Linked DNA regions of Homo sapiens: region 1 is linked to region 2. Evidence: promoter capture Hi-C in 16 types of primary human blood cells and fetal thymus (Javierre and others, 2016). All regions are on one chromosome and are shown on one strand. Each heading gives the region's core, a stretch centred on a gene start or on the middle of the fragment in contact. The rest is flanking DNA. Distances are from core to core; before and after follow the strand shown.

Region 1 (3,817 bases), core at 1,197-3,696, 280 kb after region 2:
GATCTTTGCAAGACGGTTAGAGTGACTTTGCTTTGGAGACTAGAGGTGCTGGAGAGTAGACCCAGAGCAGGAGGTGGCTGCTGGGAGCCATGATGGACGATGTCCACTCCCCACACAGACATAACATGCCCTTGCTTCTGAGGGACTCTCCTATGGGGAGGTGGCTTGACCCACCCGGTGCCAGGAGGCAGGGAAGGAGGTAGCTTGCAAAGCCCACTTTATTGAGTGCTGGAGCATTTACACAGCGCGGAGGAGGAGATAAGCTGGGGCTGAGCAAACCGCACCCAAGGGGTTAGAGGGATTCTGGGTGAGAGGGATGAGCTCCCAAGGCCTCTGAGGCTTCCACCCACACCCACCCTCACTCCCAGGGTCCAAGAGAGGCCCAGAAGTTGTACAGCAGCATCCAGCAAGGCCCCCTCGCACAGCTTGGACTTACAGGCCACTCACCTCCAACAGGGGAGATAGTCACCCATGTACTGCAAAAACAGGGACTACCGGAAGCAGCCTAGGGCCCAGAAGTGTGGAAGCCTGGAGTAGAGCTGGGTCGGGGGCCAGGCTTGCTGCACTGTGCCGACTGCTCCCAGGGTGACGGCCTGTGCCCAGTGCGGAATATGGCCCATAGAGAGGATGCTGTCAGGCAGAGGCTCTAGCATCTGGCTTTTATTGGTTGCCTTTCTTAAACCCAGCATTTTTTAAAAAGTCACCTGAGGTGGTAGTTTAGTCAGGGCTGGAGAAAGGGGTAGGCCAGTGGTCAGTCGGGAGGAGGGTACCGGTGTGGCATGATGGGTGCTTCACATGTAGTACCAGGCCAAGAGTCCAGCAGCTAGGGCCACACCAGCGGCCAGGATGAACTGGAGGCTGGGCTTCCTCAGCACAGCCATAGCTGTTCGGAAGGGACAGCTGCTGCCCTCCAGGGCACCTGTGTGGCAGCACCAATAGGAGACATGGCATCAGTGGAGTCTCCTGCTACACCTGCCCCAGGAGGGGAGCTCAGGACACACAGACCTACCTTTGTCTTGTTCAGCAGCGTAGAAAGGGCATTTACGCATGTCTCCTTTCCCATCGTGTACAGGGAACCCATCCTCCAAGGTCTCTCTGGCCAGTGTGGAGCCGGCCTGGTCCAGTTCATTGAATATCTGCAGGAGCAGAGGATCGACTGAGCCATCTTTGGGCTGCCCATACTTTTTTTTTTTTTTTAAATGTCTTTTGAGATGAGGTCTCTGTTGCCCAGGCTAGAGTGCAGTGTTATGAACATGGCTAACTCACTGCAGCCTCAAACTCCTAGGCTCAAGTGGTCCTCCCACCTTATCCTCCTACGTGTGTGTACCACCATACCTGGCTAATTTTTAAATTTTGTGGGGAGATGGTGTCTCACCTTGGTTGCCCAGGCTGGTCTTCAACTCCTGGGGTCAAGTAATGCCCCTGCCTCAGCCTCCCAAAGTGCTGGGATTACAGGCATGAGCTACTGCGCCTGGCTACACTCTCCTTTTAGAGGACGCCCTCCAGAGAGAGTGAGCTGGAGCAGGTGAGCTTGCTCAGGTGTGCCAACTACACAGCAAGCAGCACTGGTGGGCGGCAGCTGCACTGCCTGATGGTCTTCCCTCCCTAGCAAGAGCTCTGGGGAGGTGTGGATATTGGTACCCCAAGAAGGCTGCCAAATGCTGGGTCTCCCCTGGGAACTGACCAGAGATGTAGCCTTCTCTGAGGTGGCTCAAGCCACTGAAACTACCACAGCACAGACAGGAGGGCATGAGTACATCCCCATTTCTAGGTGCTGGTTATTTTTTTATCAAGAAGCAACAGAAAACCTGGAACATGGGAGAATGAGACTGTGGCAGGGCATACTCATCCTGAGTGCCCTGGGAGGCCTCAGTGGAAGCTGACAGGACCTGGGGACAGAGTAAGCTTCCCCAGGTTCAGCCTCATCTAAAGGCTACTTGTAAACAGAGCTTATTTACTCTCCTTGGTGGCACTGGCTCTCTATTAACTTATAAAGCAGGGCTTCTCAGAGCAAAACTTGAAAAGAAAATTAACCATTCTTCAAGACCAGCATCCTGCAATGAGGGAGGAAGCCAGCTCCATTCTTCCAGACCCCTCTATGTGCGAGAGGACTCACCCTTCCCAAAACACTACCCACTGGCATCTATCACACCAGGCCTCCATGCTGGGAACCACCCACTGGGCCCACAAGCTCTGGTGGCCAATCTGGTGGCCACCTTCCTCTCGGCACCCTGCAGCTCATCTGTCCTAATGCCATGTGTGCCTTCATGGGCCACTATGGATCTGCTACCACTGTCAAAGTTTCCCTCTTCAGCCCTAGCAGCTGGCAGCCCCCAATAGTACCTGCATGTTATACTCAAAAGCCTTGTTGGCCTCCTCCACGATCCTCTCTTTGGTCTTCATGTTCAGGTCCAGGGCGTTCATCCTGGCCCGGTAGAGCTGCTTGAACTGCTGGGCATTGTCCACATTCTCAAACAGGTAGAACTGGGTCCCTTCCCCTGTGCTGGGGAGTTTCAGTGCTCGCTGGGCCACCTTCTTCAGCACCTGGCCCCCCGAGAGATCCCCCATGTAGCGGGTGTATGCATGGGCCACCAGTAGCTCCGGCTCGTTCTGCCCTATGTAGTGGATCCGCTCCACGTACTTCTGGGCAGCCTTGGGGCACTGCACCTGCTCCTCCCAGTTTTCACCAAAGAAATACTCCATGTCCTTGGTCAGCGCCTCCTTCCGGTGCAGCTCCATGGGGAAGTACAAAGGGGCAAAGGCTGGATGGTCCTTGTTGCGCTCCATTTCCTCCTCGAGGGCTGAGTATGTGAAGTAAAGTGCCGTGGTGGCCAGCTGTGGAGGTGACAGGAGGAGGCCAGCTATGCCTGAGCACACCACATCCGAGCAGCTGGATGCAGAGGCTCAAGTGACAACCCCCAACCCCAAAGACCCAATCCTATGGTCCATTTTTATGTAGTGAATTATTTAACACACAAGGAAGCTTTTGTTTCTTAAAGGAATGGCATGGTGAAGTCTTTGGAACACGCATACTTTTGCTTCCTTCACACCACTATGTTATTCTATCTAAGCCATGAGAACCAATTTTTTTTTTTTTTGGCGGGGTAAAGAGTCTCGCTCTGTCACCCAGGCTGGAGTACAGTGGGACGATCTCGGCTCACTGTAACCTCCGCCTCCCAGGTTCAAGTGACTCTCCCACCTCAGCCTCCCAAGTAGCTGGGAGTACAGGCACGCGCCACCACACCCGGCTAATTTTTGTATTCTTAGTAGAGACAGGGTTTCACCATGTTGGCCAGGCTGGTCTCAAACTCCTGGCCTCAAGTGATCCACCTGCCTCGGCCTCCCAAAGTGCTGGGATTACAGACATGAGCCACTGTACCCAGCCGAGAGCCAGAGCTTAACGTCAAGAAGGAATGGAGTGTGGAGAAAAGCCCAGCTTTTCCCTCAGAGTGGCTCCAGGGGCACTTTTCTCATGGGACCAAGGCCCCCACCCCAACCCCATATGACAGTCTGGAACCCAATGCGGGGCACAAACCTTAAACAGCTCCTTCTTAATGTTGCCTTTCAAGAAGTCCTTGACAAACTGGGTGTTTTCTGCCCGGTCGTGTGCTTCCTTGGTCCCTTCCTTCAGGAGCTCCGAGAGGTCAGCCATTCTGTGGAGAGATGGGAGGTGTTTGTGTGTCAATTAGCCCTTCCCAGCTTTCCAGAAAGGACCATAGAGAGAAGATTGAGTCCACACCCCAAGGTGACCACCTGTTGTACTGGAGGCTGGGGCTTCTCAGACACTTCACTCCAACACAAATAGCAGCAACTTGTC
Region 2 (3,581 bases), core at 481-2,980:
CAGCATGGTCTACGTACCTGAAGTCCCAGCTACTAGGGAGGCTGGGGCAGGAGGATCACTTGAACCCAGGAAGTCGAGGCTGCAGTGAGCTGTCATTGTGCCTCTGCACTCCAACTTGGGTGACAAAGTGAGACCCTGTCCCAAAAAAGAAAAAAAAAAAAGAAAGAAAAGAAAGGAGAAAAGAAAGAAAAAAGAAAGAGAAAACATTTGCCAATAGCAAGGACACAGGAATGCCTAAGCCTTGTGAAGTCAAGTACCAGGAAACAAGAAAGAATTAACTGTGTGAGATGGACTTGGTATAAGAAACAGCTTATCAGGCTGGGCATGGTGGTTCACGTCTGTAATCTCAGCATTTAGGGAGGCTGAGGTGAGAGGATCACTAGAACCCAGGAGTTTGAGACCAGCATGGGCAACATAGTGAGACCGTGTCTCAAAAAAATTTTAAAAAGGGCTGGGCGCAGGGGCTAACGCCTGTAATCCCAGCACTTTGGGAGGCCGAGGAGGGCAGATCACGAGATCAGGAGATCGAGACCATCCTGGCTAACACAGGGAAAACCAGTCTCTACTAAAAATAGGAAAAAATTAGCCGGGCGTGGTGGCAGGCGCCTGTAGTCCCAGCTACTCGGGAGGCTGAGGCAGGAGAGCGGCGTGAACCCGGGAGGCAGAGCTTACAGTGAGCCGAGATCATGCCACTAAACTCCAGCCTGGGTGACAGAGCGAGACTCCGTCTCAAAAAAAAAAAGAAAAAAAGGAAAAAAGAAAAAAAAAGGCCAGGCATGGTGGCTCACTAATCCCAACACTTTGGGAGACCAGGGTTGGTGGATCACTTGAGGTCAGAAGCTTGTGACTAGCCTGACCAATGTGGTGAAACCCCTTCTCTACTAAAAATACAAAATTAGCGTGGTGGTGCACACCGGTAATCCAGCTACTTGGGAGGCTGAGGCAAGAGAATTGCTTGAACCCAGGAGGCGGAGGTTGCAGTGAGCCGAGATCGCGCCACTGCATTCCAGCAAGGGCAACAGAGCGAGGCTGTCTCAAAAACAAACAACAAAAAAAGAAACAGCTTATCAGAGAGACAGTAAGGCAGGGGTGAGGACCACAGTCTGGAAAGCACATGGCCTATTTAAAGAGGGCATCTCAAGTCAGGGTGATAACCTCTAAGATACACCGGAAATCTAGATGTTTCTGTAAACCAGAAAAAGGCAGTAGAGGGTGAGCACACAGACTCAGAGCGGCAGAGACTCTGCCACCTCCTCACCTGACCCTCTCTTATCTATCAGCTTGGGGTAGTAACAGCACTTACTTCACAGGGCTTGATTATTAAACAAGTTAACATCTTTGGGCTCCTAGAACGATGCCATGTGCAGAGTCAGGACTGGGTAAATATTTGCTAAAGCAATCTCTTCATGTTTTTGACGCTGCAACTTAAAACACATGGCGCCAATCGTGGACACGGATATCCCGCTAGCCAGCTGTGGGGCCTGGGTTTGCTCACCCCAGCAGAGTGGTTGAGGGCGTCAGCTTGGAGGTGGGAGCCCAGCTGACGAGGGGGCCTTGGGCCCCTGGTTCTACTTGGGGATTATTGTATTATTAGGCTGGGGTCATTGTGGGGATTAGAAGGGTAACAGCTCCTGCTCCTGCTGCAGAGAAGCCTCCAGGTGGGGGTCACAGCAAGTGCAGATGGAGCTCAGATTCTTCGGTTAACTGTCACCCTCTCCCCTCCCCCATCACACACACCAGGCCCTGCCAGGACAAGGCAGCTCCTGGAAGCTCCACCAGGACCCACGTCCACCAGGTGTCACAGCAGGCTGCTTCTCTCTCTCTCTGCCCCCCGTGGGCTCTTCGCACCGCTCCCTCCCAGCCATCTTCCCTGCCTGACCTTGGTCTCTCTCTCTCTGTCTCCGTCACCTTCATGCCTGTGCCGTCTTTCTCGCTCTCTATCAACTCTGCTGTGTGTCCCCCTGGGGAAAGTGGGGGCACCTCCTCCTGAGCCCCCTGCCCAAGTTTCCTGCTGGGACGGGAGCCACTTCACCCCATACACACTCCCTGAAGCCCCTCCAGGACTCCAGCCTGGCTGCAAACACCCATCCTGGACTTTGCCTGGCCCTCCAGGCTCTGCTGGGGGAAGCGACCTGAGAGGCCCCTGCCTGGGCTGTAGGTGGGGACAGGGCAGACCCTTGGGCAGCGGAGCCTCTCTGGATGGGTGTTGAGGCACCCTGCAGAAACAGCTCCCCACAGGCACCCTTGCCACACCCCTGGGACTACAGGCACTTAGGGTACACCAGAGGCATGAAGTGTGGAGGGGGTTGGCCAACGGCCAAGCTCAAATAGGGGTTCAGATAGGAGAGGTCAATGTGGGCTCCTCTGAGCCCCAGTGACCCCCTTCTCCCCACCCACCTGGTGACAGGCATCTCGAACCCTTGGCCCCCATGGACCCCCTGAGGCGCTCCCCCTCTCCCTGCCTGTCCTCGCAGCCCTCCAGCCCCAGCACCCCACCCTGCGAGATGCTTGGTCCTGTGGGCATTGAGGCTGTGCTGGACCAGCTGAAGATCAAGGCTATGAAGATGGGGTTTGAGTTCAACATCATGGTGGTGGGTGAGTGAGAGGTAGGGCCCACGGCAGGACAGACCCACAGTGCTACGCGTGCCTGGGCGTGTGGCCTCACCTTTGGCAGCCTGTCGCCCCTCCCCATCTCTTAGGTGGGCCTGATAATAGCACCTCACAGGGATGTTGTCATTGAAAATTTGAGAAATGCTGAGTCATTAAAAGACAAAAATGTGCCTGGAGCGGTGGCTCACACCTATAATCCAGGGTTTTGGGAGACTGAGGTGGGTGGATCACTTGAGCTCAGGAGTTTGAGACTAGCAAAACCTAATGTCTACAAAAAGTACAAAAATGAGGCCGGGCATGGTGGCTCAAGCCTGTAATTCCAGCACTTTGAAAGGCCAAGGCAGGAGGGTCACTTGAGGTCAGGAGTTCGAAAACAGCCTGGCCAACATGGGGAAACTCCGTCTCTACTAAAAATACAAAAATTTGCCAGGCGTGGTGGTGGGCGCCTGTACTTAGGAGCTACTTAGGAGGCTAAGGCAGGAGAATTGCTTGAACCTGGGAGGCAGATGTTGTAGTGAGCCGAGATTGCGCCACTGTACTCCAGCCTGGGTGACAGAGCAAGACTGAAGCAGAAGGATCCCTGGAGGCCAGGAGTTCATGACCAGCCTAGGCAACACAGCAAGACCCCATCTCTACAAAAAAAATTTAAAAATTAGCCAGGCATGGTGACATGCACCTGAATCCCAGCTACTTGGGGGGCTGAGGTGGGAGGATCGTTTGAACCTGAGGGTGGAGGTTGCAGTGAGCTGCGATCACTTGAGTCTGGGTGACAGATTGAGACCCTGTCTTAAAAATTAAAAAACAGTGCAAGGCCGGGTGTGGTGGCTCACGCCTGTAATCCCAGCACTTTGGGAGGCTGAGGCAGGCGGATCATGAGGTCAGGAAATCAAGACCATCCTGGCTAACATGGTGAAACCCCGTCTCTACTAAAAATACAAAAAAATTAGCCAGGCGTGGTGGCGGGCGCCTGT

What was found. Contacts are between HindIII fragments. The CHiCAGO score rates a contact against its expected background, and 5 or more counts as called.
Region 1: a fragment that was not itself captured here is called in contact with the fragment with the promoter of SEPTIN12 in region 2 in 4 of 17 cell types (naive CD8 T cells, fetal thymus, naive B cells and 1 more); the score reaches 6.7 in naive CD8 T cells.

Annotation. Positions count from the first base shown.
Region 1 is chr16:4,506,731-4,510,547 of GRCh38, reverse strand. It overlaps HMOX2 (heme oxygenase 2), which reads right to left. Exons shown (of 6, transcript NM_002134.4): 3 at 3,536-3,653; 4 at 2,344-2,835; 5 at 1,010-1,136; 6 at 201-919. The coding sequence ends at 792. Among named protein-coding and RNA genes, the nearest start is that of CDIP1, 30 kb to the left of the region's middle. The HindIII fragment of the contact is 1,078 bases long and covers 1,908-2,985 here.
Region 2 is chr16:4,786,494-4,790,074 of GRCh38, reverse strand. It overlaps SEPTIN12 (septin 12), which reads left to right and starts at 1,730. Exons shown (of 10, transcript NM_144605.5): 1 at 1,730-1,795; 2 at 2,408-2,595. The coding sequence starts at 2,430. It also overlaps a transcript of SMIM22 not described here. The HindIII fragment of the contact is 19,587 bases long and covers 843-3,581 here.